Linked DNA regions of Homo sapiens: regions 1, 2 and 3 are each linked to region 4. The links are contacts of gene promoters, found by promoter capture Hi-C in human tissues and cell types (Jung and others, 2019). All regions are on one chromosome and are shown on one strand. Each heading gives the region's core, a stretch centred on a gene start or on the middle of the fragment in contact. The rest is flanking DNA. Distances are from core to core; before and after follow the strand shown. Region 1 holds the start of TOB2 (transducer of ERBB2, 2). Region 2 holds the start of CSDC2 (cold shock domain containing C2). Region 3 holds the start of PMM1 (phosphomannomutase 1). Region 4 overlaps XPNPEP3 (X-prolyl aminopeptidase 3).

What was found. The method cuts DNA at HindIII sites, captures the fragments that hold promoters and counts their contacts. A contact is called where the count stands out against the background at its distance.
Region 1: the fragment with the promoter of TOB2 here is called in contact with a fragment that was not itself captured in region 4 in 1 of the 25 tissues and cell types used here (spleen).
Region 2: the fragment with the promoter of CSDC2 here is called in contact with a fragment that was not itself captured in region 4 in 1 of the 25 tissues and cell types used here (spleen).
Region 3: a contact is called between the fragment with the promoter of PMM1 here and a fragment that was not itself captured in region 4, in 1 of the 25 tissues and cell types used here (dorsolateral prefrontal cortex).

Annotation. Positions count from the first base shown.
Region 1 is chr22:41,444,144-41,448,744 of GRCh38, forward strand. TOB2 (transducer of ERBB2, 2) reads right to left here and starts at 2,658. Exons shown (of 2, transcript NM_016272.4): 1 at 2,236-2,658. It overlaps LOC105373043 (a long non-coding RNA gene), which reads left to right and starts at 2,802. Exons shown (of 2, transcript XR_938274.2): 1 at 2,802-3,889; 2 at 3,976-4,601. RefSeq lists enhancers at 203-322, 2,428-3,123, 2,870-3,119, 3,124-3,819 and a silencer at 3,690-3,789. The HindIII fragment of the contact is 14,496 bases long and covers 1-4,601 here.
Region 2 is chr22:41,558,399-41,563,244 of GRCh38, forward strand. CSDC2 (cold shock domain containing C2) reads left to right here and starts at 2,612. Exons shown (of 4, transcript NM_014460.4): 1 at 2,612-2,785. It overlaps LOC105373044 (a long non-coding RNA gene), which reads right to left and starts at 2,485. Exons shown (of 2, transcript NR_134631.1): 1 at 2,322-2,485. The HindIII fragment of the contact is 6,219 bases long and covers 1-3,779 here.
Region 3 is chr22:41,587,815-41,592,479 of GRCh38, forward strand. PMM1 (phosphomannomutase 1) reads right to left here and starts at 2,026. Exons shown (of 8, transcript NM_002676.3): 1 at 1,905-2,026. The coding sequence starts at 1,991. RefSeq lists an enhancer at 1,151-1,830 and a silencer at 2,225-2,374. The HindIII fragment of the contact is 27,075 bases long and covers 1-4,665 here.
Region 4 is chr22:40,919,203-40,923,393 of GRCh38, forward strand. XPNPEP3 (X-prolyl aminopeptidase 3) reads left to right here. Exons shown (of 10, transcript NM_022098.4): 8 at 3,131-3,311. Among named protein-coding and RNA genes, the nearest start is that of RBX1, 30 kb to the right of the region's middle. The HindIII fragment of the contact is 3,206 bases long and covers 32-3,237 here.

The DNA.
Region 1 (4,601 bases), core at 1,408-3,907, 530 kb after region 4:
GGAGTGAGAGCCAAACGCAGGCAGCTCCTCTCCTTGGTGAGACACGGGATCCGCCCCAACTCGCTGGTCCCAGAGGCAGCGGCCCAGACAGGCGGGTGTGTATTGAAAGGCTTCCAGGACTGGTGCTGACTGACTGCAACACCGCGCCCAGTCTCTCATCATCTCCCCCTAGACACAGACCGGTCAACCTTAGGTCTGACAACAAGGCCCCTTTCGGCTATGAAGACCCTTTCTAGGGCACTCCATGTTCCTCAGGAGCTAGGAAAACTCGACTCAACCCAAACGTAGGCGGAGAGGCGGGCGGTGAGGGCCCGCTCTGCACTCTGGGAATTGTAGTCCTCAAACACCTCCGGACCAGGCGATAGCAGGAGTGACCTACTTTCCCTGCACACTACACTTCCCTGAGCACTTTGCGAAGGCCCAACTGGCCGCAATACGCATGCCCGGTAAGGGGAGCCGACCGAGGGTCGAAGAGCCCAGGAAAAGTTTCCGATGCACATGCGCGCTGAGGCGGGTCGGCGCCCCCCTCCCATCGCCTAATACATTTCATGTAGATTCTACCCAAAAGGCCTACTCCCCGTATTGTATGGCCCCACCACATCCTCTAGGCTTTACGAGAGCCTAACTTTCCCACCTTTCCCTTCATCGCCTCCCATTACTGATGAAACTAGGATCTGCTTCTAATGAGTTTTTTCTGGGTGAAGGGGGTGGGCTGGCTTAGATAAGGTCACGACCCCCTTCCCCCCACCCAATCTGAATTCCAGGGCCTGGGCGGTCCGTGTGGGGTTGCTGGATGGACGGTGGATTCAAAGGGAAACGGATCTTTTTCACTTAATGCCTAGCGGACTCGGCTCCAGCACCCCAAACAGCCAGGAAAGGAAAGGCAGGAATCAAACCCAGTTCTCCCGTCCTCTCGGCCAAAGAAATTTCCAGTCAAGCTGTGGGGAGGCGCCAGGCCAAGGCCAGCAGGGCCCAAGCCTCACCCCATTTCTAATCGAAGACTGAGTAACCAGATCCGGGAGAGGGAAATAGGAAAAGGTTCCCAGGCAGAGAAGAAAAAAACTGTACACCTGACACCTGAGCATCTTCTCATACTAAAATTCTGTGTGTCTCCTCCCATTGCAAGGTCTGCTTTACGACCAGACTTACCAGATCCTCGGCAAGCTCCCCCGCTGGGTGTTAAACCTCCTTAATCCTTCCTCCCACACAAGCTTCTTTCCCCCTATGCTTCACGGAGGGATGGGGGTAGAAGCCCAAGAAAGCAATAGGATTGTTTTTCTGCCGGAAAATCAGAGATGAAGGACCCATTCCCAGGGTACGGTGGGTAAGAAGGAGAAAAAGACCGTTTAGATACGGAGTAGCACCAGAGACTGGCCTCCACCCGTCCCCAAGCTGAAGCTTGCTGTGCGGGGTTCTGGTTTCTCCTGGGGGAGGGAGAGGGCCTGCCGGCTGTGCCTCCTCTCTGCACCCTCCTTCCCCTCCCAGATTTCTGGTGGTCAAGGGCACAGTTCATCCTCCGGACAGGAGGGGAAGGAGTTTGGGGGTAGGGCCCCACCTCGCAGGCACCTTACCAAGATAAGCAGAATCCACTCACTGGCACTGCTCTAAGGGTACTTTTTTCTGCCCAATTTTCCATTAAAACACTTAAGAGTATAAAGAGCTCAGCCGAAACGGTGAACTCTGGCTCAGTGGCCCAAGGACAATCTCCACTGACCTGTCCCGTCGCCAAAGGGGGTGTCCACCCTCCACCCTTCAGGCTCCACAGAGCCAGAAATAGAGTCTATTAACAATTACCACCCCCCTTCCCTGCACACGGGAAAAGAAGCAGAAAAACAAGGCCTGGATCCCCTTCCTTCCTCGGATTTATTTAACGGTGGGGGGAGTTATGTTTCTTTGGAGAACAAGGAAGATCTAGCGAGTAGCTAGGATATAAAGAACCGGGGGAGGCGGGGAAGGGAGGAAATGCACCCCACCCAGGAGAGGGCCACTCTTGGAACTGGGAGAAAAAGGAGCTCTTGGGCACCCCAGGAGCACAGATGGCGTGAGAAGAGGAGCTGGGGAAAGTGGGGTCTGGAGGGAAGCTGGATGGGGAAAGAAAATGCTGGCCAGGCGGGGAGGGAGCGGCAGCAACGTGGAGAGTCCAGCAAAGCGGGAGTGGGGCGGGGTGGAAGAGGTAGTCCGGCCGGCTGGGTCTCGGGGCGGGCCCCCCGCCCGCACGCCCCCCAACTCACTCACTCGGGTCTCCGCGGCGGCGGGGCGCTCTACCGGCCGCGGGGCGGCTTCTCCCTCCAGGGTGGCCTGAGCGCGGGGCGGAGGTCGCTCTCCTTTCCTTCCCGGGCGTCGCCGGGCCAGGGGACCGAAGTCCTTTTCGTCGTTGAGGGTTGGGGGACGAAGCAGGGGGCTATGGACTATGACTCTCAATAATTTCTTTCAGCTCTTAGGAGGTCGGGCTCGGCAGCGGGGGGCCCGAGGGCGGGCGGGCGGACTAGCGGCGACGACGCGGGGATGGCGGATCGGAGGGTGGTTCGTGTCGCGCAACGGCAGACGGTATGGGCTGTCGCCGGCAGACGGTCCTGCCCTCCTGGCCCCGCGTCGCCCGAGCCACGGCTTGCCTCAGCCAACAACCCGCACCTTCCCGCGCCCCGGCCCGAAGTGAGCAAAGTCAATGAAAAGTTTCACCCTTAGCAACCCTGCGCACGGATCCGGCTTCCCCACCCCTGCGTGATGCGTCCCTCCGCCCTGCAGGGGCGGGGCCAGGGCCCGGCCGGGACTACTTCCCAGCCAGCCCCGCGCCTCAGCTCGCTGGTATCTCGCGGAGCAGCTCCTGTGCCCTTCTGTGCTCGCCGGTCGTGCGTCCGGCTCCCCGTCTTCCCCTCCCTGTCACAGCGCCGCGCCGCACTCCTTTCCTTCATTCCCATACCACTCTGAACTTGTGCGCGTCGTGTGAGGTGTTCTCCCAGGGGCGCTCCGTGAGGGCCGGGGACCACCTGGGGCCGGGTTGCTCACGAGCCGGGCACAGTGCACTCTCCCTTTAGTTGTGTTTGGGGGACGAGTATCGCGGGGGAGGGGAGGGAGTCACCATGCCCGCCGGAAACCCCCCGCTGAGTCGTCCGCCCTGCACCTGCCTCGGAGCCCATGGTTCGGACGTTTGCCCGAGCCGTTTCCCGGGGCCTTCCCTCCAGCTCCGAGCGTCTGGCCGTGTCCGCGGCGATAGCATCGCCCCGTTACGGCCTCTGCGGGAGGGGGAACTGAGGGGACGACGCGGGCTCTGGAAACATTTCGGACCCGTTTCGGGCAGGCATGAGTCTTCCGAGCGCCTTGTGATTCCTCGGGGGGCTCAACGTCGAAAGAAAGGCGAGGGAGACTCTGGGGCCTGGGCCACGCTGTGCGGGAGTAAGAGGAGCCGAGGACGAGGCTGACGGCCGTGAAACTAGCCGAGTGCCACAAAGGACCTTCCCCTCACCGCCTCTGGCGCTCCTTTCCTTGCAGCCTGGAGGGCCGGCTCTGGCTCTGCGCAGGCGCGCGGGCGCAGCCCCTCTCCCAACTCTTGTTTGCTCTTTCTGGCCAGCGACCCCAGTGTGGGGCACGCGGGAGAGCCCCACATTTCTTCTAGTCGCAGTCCCGCCGGCGTGGGGTGGCCCCTGACCGTGCAACGGGCGCAAGGCTCGCACCCACTACGGCCCCTCGGGCGGCGGAGCGAGGCTCCGCGAACCCGGGACTGGGCGCGCCAGGCCCGCGCGCTGAGGCCCCCTCCCCCGGCTCTGGCCACGCGGGCTGCTCTGCCTCTGTGAGTGTGCGGGACACAGAGCCAGGGGGAGGGAGGGCCGTGTTCTGCGGTCACAGGCAGACAGGAGTGCCGGAAGATGCAGTCTGGAGCCCCCGGGGGACTGTGAGTGAGGTCTTCTCCCCGGTCCCTCCTTAGATCTCCCATTTCCCAGTTCTCCCCTCCCGCCCACACCTTTTTTGTCATTCCAGACGGTTCCGGCCCAGCAGCAGCCGCCATCCCCACGTTGGGTGGCGAGATCCGAAAGTTTCCAGCTACGAACAGTTTGCTTTTTTTTTTTCCTTGATCGCTTTTTTTGGCAAGGGCGGAGAGCACCAGTAGCGTGGGGGGTTTAAATGCACTTTCCCTGAATGCAACAGAGAAATGCCGGGCTGGAGGGCAAACTCCACCGGGACAGGGAGGCGGGAGATAGCCTGAGCGCCCCCCCATCCCCCACACTCTGAGCGTCGCAACCCCGGGGGCACCTCCAGGGACTACTTGCCTTGTGCGTCAGCGAGTGACAGCGTCACACACACGCCCCCTCCCGCACATGCCCGCTGCACCCTCCCTTTCCCCCTCCCCTTCCCTTCTCTCTTTTCCCCTAGCTCTTCCCACCAGGCAGAGAGGCTCAGCCGACCCACACGCTCCCAGAGCACTGAAAGCTAAAAATATAGCCGGTGTGTTAGCAACAGCCTTCCCATTGGTCGGGGGAAAGGGAGAAGCGGTGTCTGATTGGGTTTAGGATCCAGCCGCTAAGACTGGGCCCTTGGGAGTGTGCGTTTGCGCCAGCGGGCACGGCAAGGGATGCTGGTATTTGTAGTCATTGATTAAGGCAGCC
Region 2 (4,846 bases), core at 1,362-3,861, 640 kb after region 4:
CTTGAACCAGGGGTGTGGAGGTTGCAGTGAGCCAAGATCGCACCACTACACTCCAGCCTGGGCAACAGAGCAAGACTCCGTCTAAAAAAAAGAAAAAAAAGAAAAAAAAAACATAGGTCCAGAGATCAGGCTTGGGGCCTCTGCTCCAGCACTCCTCCACTTCGGAGCCGCGTGACTCAGTGGAGCCCCACGAGCTCTCTGAGCTGTTTCCTCATCCCACCGAACCCGATAGAGCTGTCAGAAGAAGCAGGCAAGGGGCTAGGCGCAGTGGCTCATGCCTGTAATTCCAGCACTTTGAGAGGCCGAGGCAGGTGGATCACCTGAGGTCAGGAGTACAAGACCAGCCTGGCCAACATGGCGAAACCTCATCTCTACTAAAAATACAAAAATTAGCCAGATGTGGTGGCACATGCCTGTAGTCTCAGCTACTCAGCAGGCTGAGGCACGGGAATTGCTTGAACCCGGGAGGCAGAGGTTGCAGTAAGCTGAGATCACACCACTGCACTCCAGCCTGGGCGACAGAGTGAGACTCCGTCTCAAAAAAAAAAAAAAAAAAGAAAGATATTATTGCTGGAGGAGAGGAAGGCAAAGAAGAAAGAAGAGACGATGTTATCCCAGCACTTTGGGAGGCCAAGGTAGGAGGATCGCTTGAGGCCAGGAGTTTGAGACTAGCCTGGGCAACATAATGAGACCCCATCTCTATAAAAATTTTTTGAAAACTTAGCCAGGCATGGTGGTGCACCCCTGTAGTCCCAGCTACTCATGAGGCTGAGGCGGGAGGATCATTTGAGCCCAGGAGTTGGAAGCTGCAGTGAACTGTGATTGAGCCACTGCATTCTAGCCTGGGTAACAAAGCAAGACCCTGTTTCAAAAAAGAAAAAATAAATAAATAAAAAGGAGGAAAGAGAGAGGAGAATTTAAAGGGGAAGGGAGGCTCCTCTGGGTAGAGTTCTCAGGTGGGGCTGTGAAATAAAATCAGAACCCTGGCTGGGCGCGGTGGCTCACGTCTGTAATCCCAGCACTTTGGGAGGCTGAGGTGGGTGGATCACGAGGTCGGGAGATCGAGACCATTCTGGCCAACATAGTGAAACCCTGTCTCTACTAAAAATACAAAAAAATTAGCTGGGTGTGGTGGTGTGTGTCTGTAGTCCCAGCTACTCAGGAGGCTGAGGCAGGAGAATCGCTTGAACCCGGGAAGCGGAGGTTGCAGCGAGCTGAGATCAAGCCACTGCCCTCCAGCCTGGGCGACACAGCAATACTCTCTAAAAAAAATAATAATAATTCAGAACATCCCCAGGTAACCACAGGCAGCATTTCTCAACAGTCTCTCCTGCAGAACCAGAAACCCAGACTGTCTGAGCCTGATTGTCCTGAGAGGTTCTGGAAGGGCAGGGGCGTGTGGTGACACTGGGTGCTCCTGGGTTCCAGTACCTCTCTAGCCAGTTGGAAGAATATAGGCAAGTCAAGTCCTTCCTCCTCCCTGAGCCTCTAATTCCTCACCGGTAAAGTAGGGATGATAAAAATAAATTATTAAATTGTTGTGAGGTTTCAATGAGGGCAAAGCTTGCTGCCTGAAACAGAGCAAGCTCTTGTGGCGTCTTAGCTATTTGTATTAGTTACTTGTATTTTTCTCTGCGGTTTCCCTTTTAACTCCCACCTCCTTTTTATTTTAAAAAGACTCCTTTTGAAAATGCCAGCCTGCCTCAGTAGTACCAGGAGACACCAGGGAAAGGCTTCCTTCTTTCCAAGCTGAGGCTGAGAAGGAATGGGAAGAACGAAGAGAAGCACCTTTGTGGAGGCCTCCTCCAGCTGGCCCTGGGTTTAGGAACATCACACACTCAACCTCCAAAGGCCCTCAGGGGCTGGCCCAAGGTCACACAGCTTGACAGTGCGGAGCACTTCGAAGCCAGGGCGTGTGGTGTAGAACAGGCTGGGTGCCTGAATTCAATCAGCCCTCTCTACTTCTCTACTCAGAGCCTCCCAGGCTGTGGGGTGTTCACCTGTGCACCTTCAAGCCGATCACTTCCTTGGGGTCCTCGTCAATTCAATTCCATGGAAATATTACAAGGGGTAGACAGAGATGAGCCGTGTCAGTGTCTGTACTAGCAGAGGGCAGGACCACTGAGCGTCCGGAGGGGAGACGAGTGTCTGGGTGTCCCTGGGAACCTGGCTTGTCTCGACCCCTCTGGGGGGCTCCTCTTGGCTCTGACCTCCATTCTCCCAGACTCACCCCCACTCATGCCCACCCACCCCGAGGGGCCCCCCAGTGTGCACTCACACACTCACACTCAAACTCACCACCCCACTTGCTCTCTAATTACCAGGAACGTGGCGCTGTCTCAGGTTCTTCCTCCCCTGCATTCCTCAGCAGCTGCCCTCACTGGGCAGGGCAAATTATACCGTGGCCCGACCATAAAAGCCACTTTCCAAAAAAAGAAGCTTTAAGGCCCCCGAGAGACGCAGCTGAGCCTCTCACCTGGCAGTGCCTGACTCAGGAGGTGATGTCTGGGCCATGAGCCACAGAGCCTGGTGTCCCTTTAAGCAGGGAGTACAAATTCTCATCCCTCCCTCCTGCTCTCCCTGACGTCAGCTGGAAGGCGTGTGAGTGAGTGAGGGGCTGAGGTACCGCCCGCGCGAGCACACACAGACACACACACACACACACACACACACACACACACACATCTTCCAGACCCATCCCCTGCCTGCCAGCTCCACGAGCCAGAGAGAGACAGAGCGCGGACGCCGCAGGAGGCAGTGCCTGGACCCCAGCTGCCCAGGAGAGGTGAGGGGCTAGATGGGGCCTGAGGACACTGTGCCAGAAACTGTGGCTTTGGCCAGGCCGAAGGAGAGAGGTACAACGTGAAGGTGGGGGCTGGATCAGCCCAGTTCAGCTTACAGATAGGGTGTTGGGGGTATAGAGGATACCACCTGTCTCTCCCTCCCTCATTCTCTCCCCGTGACCCCCAAATGAGGTGAGGCCGTGTGGCTCCCGTGGGAGCATGTCTGTGTCTGTGTCTGTGTCTGTGTCTGGGACCTGCGTCTGGCTCAGGAGGCAGAGAGCAGCAGATACCTGCCAAGCCGCAGCCTCCTGTCTGGGAAGCAGCGGGAGAGAGGACCGCCTTGACCAGAGAAACCCCAGTGCCGCTTCCAGTTGCTGAAAGCAGAGTGCAGCAGGGACCCTTGCTGGTCCTTCCCCTGGAATGTTGGGCTGGGAAGGGACCGGCTGGGAAAGGCAGACAGTTGGACCTGGAGCAGCTGTCTTATCCTGACTCTATTTTTTCCCCAGTGTGATGGGGATAATTGTGTTAGTTGGCTTAGAGAGGTGGCTCCGTGTGGTTATTCTCTTCCCCCAGGTACCACCCCACCCCGAGCCCTTGCTTCTTGCCTGCCTGCTGGTCTGCTCTGACCTCCACCCTTGCCAGGGCACAGCCCCCGGAGGGCAGGGGTGATAAGTCAGGGCCTGCCAGGCCTCTATCTTGGGATACAGGGACTTAGGGTGGCCTTGGCTGGTGCCAAGCCCATGAATGGCCTGACCCTGGCACAAGGAGTCCAGGCGGAGATAAGGGGCGACGCTGGCACCCACAAGGAGACAGCAGGTTCCTGCCAAGCTGCCAGCCTGCAGGCTCTTCCCAGGGAGAGGGGAGGGGGACACAGAGCGAGAACAATAATAAATACAGAGTGTGAACTGCTGCATCCACTGGGGCTGGGGTAGGAGAGGAGGAAGTATGCCCAGTGGGGGGTGGGCAACCTCTCTGAGAGCCTGGCATCATGCTGCCTGGCTGTGATCCGGCAGGGGCCTCTCCCTGGGAAAGGGGGTCTCCAGCTTTCTGGGGGATGGGGAACTGGTTTCCCAAACCTGACTCCATCCCAGAGTCCTCTGGACCCTCCAAATTCTGAATGTTTCCTCCTCCCAGCTTTGCCCTGCCGCCCCCCATTTCCTTGAAGTCTTCTCCAAAAATGTCTGTTTTCTGTGTCTGCCCATCTTGACCCATCCTCACCCCCTTCAAAAAAAAAAAAAAAGACAGGTATAGACAGGAACTGCCTGCCCGTGTCCTGGGAAAGGCCAGAGGACAGTTTTGGCCACAGATGGCTCTCCCAGGCTTGGAGAGACATGGCTAGGCAATGTTCACGGATGCGCAGGGGGATTCCCTGAGGGGGACTTGGGGACACTCTCAGATGGCTGGTGGGGAGGGGACACCTGCCAGCCAGTCTGGAGTAGAGCCCCCTAGGGGGTAGAGGGCGCTCAGGACCTGGCTGAGCCAGTCATGTCCACGGTCACAACTGGGGCAGCCAGGACCCAGAGCCTTGTAGGAATGGGGCTTGGGGCAGTTCAGACCTTTGTCCATGCTGAGCAGCAAAATGGGAGGCTAAAAGTAGTAGGGAGCTCTTCTGCCCCACAGCCAGCAAAATGACACTCCTGGGCTGGGGGGCTGGCATGGCACACCAGAAAGCTGTGGGGTCACACTGATTGGAGTTCAAGTTCAGATGCTGTATGTATGTATGACTTTGACCAGTCTATTCCTCTCTCTAGGGGGTCTCAAAATGGGAAAGTGACTTGCCTAGGGTCGCACAGCCAAGCACAGGTGGGACTGGGGTGCGTATTTGGCTCTCCCAGTGCCGTCCTGGTTTCCCCACCACCACCCAAGCCACAGAAGCCCAAAGGCCTTAACCACAGCAGTTCCCCAGGGCAGCCTGGGCATGTGACAAGGAGGACTACAGGGTCTCTTAAATAATTAAGCTCAAGTATTGGCTGGGGCAGCCCTCATGCACAGACGCAGGCACACAGGCTGTGTGGGGGAAGGACCAGGTTTAATCAGGTCACCTCAGGCTGCAAGAGCAGTTC
Region 3 (4,665 bases), core at 776-3,275, 670 kb after region 4:
GTCAGAGTGGACTTTACCCTTCTCTGTTACGTTTCCATTCTTTACCAGGAGAGTGTGCTCATGAAAATGTGTACGATTAAAAATTAACTTTCAAAAGGCACTAAGCACAGAGGCTGGCCCGTAGACAAATTAATAGGCTGTTCTTATTCAGGTTGTTATGTTTGTGGAGCAAAAGGTCAGAGGGAGGAGTCAGAACTGTGCCTAGGCCCTGCCACTTTTGTTCCAGTTCTTTTATTCATTTATTTGTTTGTTTGAGACGGAGTTTCACTCTTGTTGCCCAGGCTGGAGTGCAATGGCACAATCTTGGCTCACTGCAACCTCCACCTCCTGGGTTCAATCGATTCTCCTGCCTCTGCCTCCCCAGTAGCTGGGACTACAGGCACACGACACCACGCCCATCTACTTTTTGTTTTGTTTTGTTTTGAGACTGAGTCTCCCTCTGTCGCCCAGGCTGTAGTGCAATGGCACATTCTCGGCTCACTGCAACTTCTGCCTCTCGGGTTCAAGTGATTCTCCTGCCTCAGCCTCCCGACTAGCTAGGATTACAGGTGCATGCCACCACGCCTGGCTAATTTTTTGTATTTTTAGTAGAGATAGGGTTTCACGATATTGGTCAGGCTGGTCTTAAACTCCTGACATCGTGATCTGTCTGCCTCGGCCTCCCAAAGTGCTGGGATTACAGGCGTGAGCCACTGAACCCAGCCTAATTTTTGTATTTTTAGTAGAGACGGGGTTTCACCATGTTAGCCAGACTGATCTAGAATTCCTGACCTCAGGTGATCTGCCCACCATGGCCTCCCAAAGTGCTGGGATTACAGGCGTGACCCACAAGCAAATGGCCCACCTTTGCTCCAGTCCTGCTATCTTCCTCCCGGATCCACCCCTGCAGGAAGGCCTCCAGGGCCCAAGCCAGGGCAACTTCACCACAGAGGATGGGGAGGGGCATTCGGGACCTAAGAGAGGAGGCTAAGACCTGGGTTCCCATCAGCCACTGCCCAGTAAAGCCCATCCCACTGCTCCCCCACGCTAGGAGACCTGTTGGTTGGTCCTTGAGGCCCCCAGACTGGAGGGTGGGTTACCCACAGGGAGGGCATGAATGAAGCCTGCTTACTGATGCATCCAGCTGGTGAGGGGGCTTTTGGGGACTCACTCACAATGAGACCCAATGGGAGAAAAACTGAGCAGAGGTAAGAGGCTCAACACAGCGAGAGTCTTTAGAAGAAAACTAGACTCTTACCCTCACTATTCCTCAGTGTCCTCACAGCAAACAGGCTAGGCCTGGAGCCTCTCACATCCGGGTGGGTAGAGCTCATAAACGAATTTGAAAAGAAGCCCTCTCTGCTCCACGACTGGGGGTGGAAGGTAAAGTGGGTGATGGGGCTTCAGAAACTAGACCCAGTCCCAGGCCTGCAAAGGTCGGGGTGGGAAGACTCCGAGACGCCCTGTCTCCCACCAGATGATGACTGACGCTTGGCTGTGTGCTTGTGTGCCTGGAACCCCGGTTCAGAAGCCAGCTCCGACCACTGGTGTGTCGTAGGGCTGAACTAGGGTGGGATCCCCAGCTCAGGAGGCGGGGGCGTCCGTGAGCCAGGCCTTAGCGGCGTGTGACAGCCTCCGGGGAGGGAGGGAGCTAGGCCCCTGCTCGCAGCCTCCTCCCTCCAGTACTGGATCCAACCCCAGCACTCCCAAGCAGAACACAGGCAAGGACGCTGCGGGGTCAGTGACGTGAGGGCCAGGTCCCCTCACTCCCGGTGGGTGGCCCCGGATGTCAGGGGGCCGGGTACCGCCGCATCCCACACTCGGTCCCCGGGTGTCCACGGTCACGCTGCTGCAGACCCCACACTCAGCCTCGGGGGTGTCCGCGTGACACTCCCGGTGGGAGCTTCCAATCTTCAGGGTCCTACCTGGCGAGCCGGCGTGAGGGTCCCGTCCACGTCAAACAGGCAGAGGACGCGCTCCTTCCTGCGGGCTGCCTGGGCGGTGACTGCCATGGCTGCAGGTCCGCGCGCGGGGCGGAGTCCCGAAGATGCAACGGCAGAAGCAGCTCAGGGATAAGTGCTGACGGGGCGGGGCATTAGGGGGCGGGGGCCAGTGGACTGCCTGATTGGCCAAATGAAGAAGGGGCGTGGTCTAGGCGGGCGGAAGCGGGGGCGGGGCCTGAGCTGATTCTCATTGCTCGTGGAGGAGGGGAGCGCGGCATAGGGCGGAGCGGAGCCCTCCAGGTTCGATTGGATTGCTCCAAACAAGGCGGAGGAGGGGCCTGAGCCTGGGACCCGCAGGAAGTGAGAGGGTGAACCCGGAAGACAGGGGCGGGGCCAGAATTGGCGGGTTGATAGTGATTGCAACAGGCCGATTAAGGGGCTGGGTCGGGCGGGGCCTCTACCATGCAGTGCAGTGTCTAGTGGGCCAGGCGGGACTAAGAGAGCCGAGGTCGCTCCCCATCCACTCTCACAAGGTTTGTGGCCATCTCTTTGCCTTACAAATTTTGAGCTGTAGGAAATCTCCTGAGCCGGGCGCGGTGGTTCACGCCTGTAATCCCAGCAGTTTGGGACGTCGAGGCGGGCGGATCACCGGAGGTCGGGAGTTCGAGACCAGCCTGACCAACATGGAGAAACCTCGTCTCTACTAAAAATACAAAATTAGCCAGGCGTGGTGGCGCATGCCTGTAATCTCAGCTACTCAGGAGGCTGAGGCAGGAGAATCGCTTGATTCCAAAGAAGCCAGAGGTTGCGGTGAGCCGAGATCGCGCCATTGCACTCCAGCCTCAAAAAAAAAAAAAAAAAAAAAAAAGGAAAGAAAAGAAAAGAAAAGAAATCTCCTGAAGGCCTTTGTTCAGGCTTTGGACTTTGCCAAATTGCCTTCCCCGAGCCTTATTCCTTCTGTCCACACATAAGACCCAGCTCTCAGGGTCTACCTGCTTGGAGACCTTCCCAGATTCTTCTTTTTTTTTTTTTTTTTTGAGACAGAGTCTCGCTCTGCCCAGGCTGGAGTGCAGTGGCGGGATCTCTGCCCACTGCAACCTCCACCTCCCAGGTTCAAGCGGTTCTCATGCCTCAGCCTCCCGAGTAGCTGGGACTGCAGGCGTGTGCCACCATGCCCACCTAATTTTTGTATTTTTACTTACTTTTATGTTTATTTTATTTTATTTTTGACACAGGGCGATTTATTTATTTATTTATTTATTTTTTGAGACTGGGTCTCACTCTGTTACTCAGGTTGGAGTGCAGTGGCATGATCTCGGCTCACTGCAACCTCCGCCTCCCAGGTTCAAGTGATTCTCCTGCCTCAGCCTCCTGAGTAGCTGAAACTACAGAAGTGCGCCACCACGCCCGGCTAATTTTTTTTTTTTTTCTGAGACGGAGTTTTGCTCTTGTTGCCCAGGCTGGAGTGCAATGGCACGATTTCAGCTCACCACAACCTCTGCCTCCCGAGTAGCTGGGATTATTTTGTACCCACTACCACGCTCGGCTAATTTTTTATTTTTAGTAGTAATTTTGTATTTTCACCATGTTAGCCAGGCTGGTCTCGAACTCCTGGCCTCAGGTGATCTGCCTGCCTCAGCCTCCCAAAGTGCTGGGAATACAGGCATGAGCCACCGTTCCCAGCCAACCTTCCCAGATTCGATTCACAATTATTTAACCATTGCGTTGACTTTGGAGTCACTTCCAGGTTGCCTTCCCAGCTCCACCACTATGGGACCTTGGACAAGTCACTTCACCTCTCAGAGGCTTTGTGTCTTCACCTATAAAATGGGATGAACACCACCTGCTTTGTAGGTTTGCTTTTCACATGAAAATAAGTAACAGGCTGGGCGCGGTGGCTCACGCCTGTAATCCCAACACTTTGGGAGGCCGGGATGGGCAGATCACCTGAGGTCATGAGTTTGAGACCAGCCTGGCCAACATGGGGAAAGTCCGTCTCTACTAAAAATACAAAAATTAGCCGGGCATGGTGGCAGGAGCCTGTAATCCCAGCTACTTGGGAGGCTGAGGCGGAAGAATCACTTGAACCTGGAAGGCGGTGGTTGCAGTGAGCCGAGATGATGCCACTGCGCTCCAGCCTGGGAGACAGAGGGAGACTACACCTCAAACAAACAAACTAACTAACTAACTAACTAACTAAATAAATAAAAAATAACTGTAGAGCTGGATGCGGTGGCTCACACCTGTAATTCCAGCACTTTGGGAGGCCAAGGTGGGTGGATTGTTTGAACCCAGGAGGTCAAGATCAGCCTGGGCAACATGGCAAAATGCTGTCTCTACTAAAAATACAAAACATTAGCCAGGCATGGTGGCAGGCACCTGTGGTCCCTCAGGAGGCTAAAGTAGGAGAATCACCAGGAAGCTGAGGCTGCAACGAACCAGATCTTCCCACTGCACTCCAGCCTGGGTAACAGTAGTGAGACCCTGTCTCAAGAAAAAAAAAAAAAAAGATGCAGATCATATGAGTCAGCAATTCAACTTTTAGAAAATAGGAAAAGAGGCTGAGCGCGGTAGCTCACGCCTGTAATCCCAGCACTTTGGGAGGCCAAGGCAGGCAGACCACAAGGTCAAGAGATCGAGACCATCCTGGCTAACGTGGTGAAACCCCGTCTCTACTAAAAATACAAAAAATTAGCCAGGCGTAGTGGCGGCACCTGTAGTCCCAGCGACTCGGGAGGCTGAG
Region 4 (4,191 bases), core at 385-2,884:
AGCAGAAGTTTGCAAACTTGAAGATAAATAGAAATTATCCAGCTGGAAGAATAGAAGTACATTGTAAAAAGGCCAGGTGCAGTGGCTCACACCTGTAATCCCAGCACTTTGGGAGGCCAAGGCGAGTGGATCACTTGAGGTCATGAGTTCGAGACCAGTCTAACCAACATGGTGAAACCCCGTCCATACTAAAATAACAAAAATTAGCTGGGTGTGGTGGCAGGTGCCTGTAATCTCAGCTACTTGGTTGGCTGAGGCAGAGAGCGATCCTCACATCTCAACCTCCCAAGTAGCTGGGATTATAGGCACGTGCCACCATGCCTGGCTAATATTTTGTTTTTTTGTAGAGACACGGTTTCGCTATGTTGCCCAGGCTGGTCTGCAACTCCTGGGCTCAAACGATTCTCTTGCCTTGGCCTGCCAAAACACTGGAATTACAGGCATGAGCCACTATGCCCAGCCAAATTCTAGGTATTTAAGAGAAATGAAAACATTTCTCAACAAAAAGGGTTGCACAAGGACATTCATAACAGCATTTATTCACAATAGTATAACAACCAAAATGTCCATCAACAGGAGAATGAATATGCAAATTGTGGTCTGTTCATACAATGGAATACCACTCAGTAATAAAAAAGAACATTTTAATTACTGATCGAATGTTTTTTGTTACTGATTGAAGCACCACCATGGATGTACTGCATAGACAACCTTCTACCCTCACTGAGCATAGATTATGTTCAGTGAAGGAAGCCAGACACAAAAGAGTATATATTATATGATTCCATTTATATGATGTTCTAGATTTGGCAAACTAAGGTCAAAATAATCACAATAGCATTTGCCTCGGAAAGTAGGGATATTGATTAGAAATGGACATGTGGGCCAGGCGTGGTGACTCATGCCTGTAATCCTAGGACTTTGGGAGGCCAAGGTAGGTGGATCACCTGAGGTCAGGAGTTCAAGACCAGCCTGGCCAACATGGCAGAAACCCATCTCTACTCAAAATACAAAAATTAGCTGGGCGTGGTGGTGGGCGCCTATAATCCCAGCTACTTGGGAGGCCGAGGCAGGAGAATCGCTTGAACCCGGTGGGGGCAGAGGTTGCAGTGAGCCGAGATCGCACCACTTCACTCCAGCCTGGGTGAAAGAGCGAAACTCCATCTCAAAAAAAGAAAAAAAGAAATGAACATGAGGAGGCTTTCAGGGGAGATGGAAATGGTCTGTATAAGGCTTGAGTCCAAAATCTATAGGGCAGACTTCAGTCCAAACTCAGGCAGGGTTTATATTATAGTCTTGAGGCAGAATTCCTTCTCCAGTATACCAAAGCAGTTGTGGCATTTGTGTTTATGTATTGTGGGTTACCTTTTGGTTTGTGTTTCAGCCAGCTAGGCAACAAACTGTTAGAACTTTTCTGACCCCTTCAGCGGCAACGTTGAATCCAGAGTCTCTGATTAGTGGACCCATATCAGTAAAGTTGCCTGATGCAACTGTGTTCCTTCTACCATTATCCCACACCATAAATATTCATTCCCACCCACATTCCCAGATTTTTGTCTTTCGGAAATTGGAAACCTCATGCAGTTCTTTTTTTGTTTTGTTTTTTTGAGACGGAGTTTCACTCTTGTTGCCCAGGCTGGAGTGCAATGGCGCAATCTCGGCTCACCACAACCTTCGCCTCCCAGTTTCAAGCGATTCTTCTGCCTCAGCCTCCCGAGTAGCTGGAATTACAGACATGCACCACCATGCCCAGCTGATTTTGTATTTTTAGTAGAGATGGGATTTCTCCATGTTGGTCAGGCTGGTCTCGAACTCCCGACCTCAGGTGATCCACCCGCCTCGGCCTCCCAAAGTGTTGGGATTACAGGCGTGAGCCACCGCGCCCAGCCCCTCATGCAGTTCTTTTTGGTGTGGAGTGGACCTCCTCATGGGTCAAGCTTTCTGCCTAACTTGGAGCCTGCTGGGACTTGAGTGTAGTTACAATTCTAGTAGAACCAAGGCAACTGCCTCAAGGGACATACCTACAAGTTTTCAGGCAAAACAGGGTTAACCTTCTCAGACGGGGGTGGAAGGGCCACTTCTGCTGGCAACGAAGACTCAGCAGAATTTAGGAGTTCATTGTTCCCAGCTTCAATAGGTTTGGTACATGAATTTGTCAAAATTGTACCGTTCAAATGTATGCATTTTAGTGTATATAAAGACACTTTGGGAGGCCAAGGCAGGAGGATCGTTTGAGCTGAAGAGTTCCAGACCAACCTGGGCAACATAGTGAGACCTTGTCTCTAAAAAAAAAAAAAAAAAAAACTATTACAAAAATGATTATTTAGTAATACTGTGGTGGGCTGGGGTATGGGTACATTATGCTGTGGGTTTCTTATGCTATTATAGTTAAGCATTCTTCTATTAGGGGACATTTAGAGTTTGTCTAATAATTTACAATTATAAAATTACAGCGAACATTTTAGTACATTCAGCTTTTTTGAATTTCAAATATTTTCTTTGGATATATTAGAGTAGAATTATAAGCTCTAGTTATATGAGCATCTTTAAGGCCTTTGATGTAATTGGCTGTATTAATTTATACTCCTATCAACAGTATGTGAGAATACATATCATGTATCATCCCAGGTCACTTTTTTATCTCGTAATTGCTAAAGAAACTGTTATTCTAAAGACACTTAAGTGCTAGTACATTACTAGTAGCCCAGATGTTGACTAGTTTATCCCATGGTATCTGCTTCACCTGTCAGAAGTGGGTCCCTAGGCTTTCTTGCCTTTTTTTTTAATGGTAGTCTATGCTGTAAGGGATTAAACAGGATCATGGCTGAGCCTCATCTGCCCACTGACTGCACTCATGGCTCAGTGCTTCTTTTGGCCCTACTTCATGTCTCTCCTGACCATTTGAAGAAGAGACTGTGTTGCTGCTCCAGCTTGAAGGATTGTTGCCCTTCCTACTGAGCACCTAGGACATGATTGAGCTCCTGGCCATATTGATAGATTGGTACTTATTAAACATCAACAGTGCCCCAGCAACAGCAGCATCTTGGGGTTTTTCTAATCAAACTTAGTAGCAAACTTCTTAGAATATCAGATTATCTAAGTTCAGGTTCTTTGGTTTTCCCGTCCCCAGGTTCACCGCACCTCAGGCAGAACTCTATGAAGCCGTTCTAGAGATCCAAAGAGATTGTTTGGCCCTCTGCTTCCCTGGGACAAGCTTGGAGAACATCTACAGCATGATGCTGACCCTGATAGGACAGAAGCTTAAAGACTTGGGGATCATGAAGAACATTAAGGAAAATAATGCCTTCAAGGTACTTCACTTCTCTTGACCCCAGTTCTCAAGAACACCTAGCATGCTGCTAGGTTTTTACCCTATATAAAGCTAATTAGACTTAGAAATGGGACAGATGTAGTGATTCATGCCTGTAATCCCAGTAGTTTAGGAGGCTGAGGCAGGAGGATTGCTTGAAGCCAGCCTGGGCAACATAGCAAGACCCATCTATATACATGTAGATATATACACACACACACACACACACACACATATATATATACACACACATACGTAGATATATATACATACACACACAGGGTTTTTTAAGTAAAAAGAAAAGATTTAGAAATCATCTTTGTGATCTATAAAAGGGATTTAGCTTTAACATGGATTAAAACAAAGGAAGTCAGTACTTATTTCTTCCAGAAGATGGCAGCACATGCTGATTCATTACATGCTGCATAACTAGCTCAGTATTCAGAAAACTTAAAATGAAGTCTGGTGCCGACAGGGTGAAAAAGGAAACAAGAAATGAGGAGAAGCCTGGGAAACATAGCAAGACCCTATCTCTACAAAAAATTTAAAAGTTAGCCAGGTGTGGTGGCACACACCTCTAGTCTCAGCTACTTGGGAGGTTGAGGTGGGAGGATCACTTGACCCCAGAAGTTCAACGCTGCAGTGAGCTATGTTCGCACCACTGCACTCCAACCCGGGCCACAGAACAAGGCCCTGTGTCTAAAAAAAAAAAAAAGAGAGAGAGATTAACTTTTAATCCTTTTATGGGTTATTCTGTAGGTCAAAGGAGAAGGTATTTGTTGTTTAAGTGACATTTTTGACACTTCAGCAATATTCCCAAAGACCATGTCATTAGTGAATTTTTTTTCTGCATCCAAAATGTGATGGTGTTCAGTAAAAAC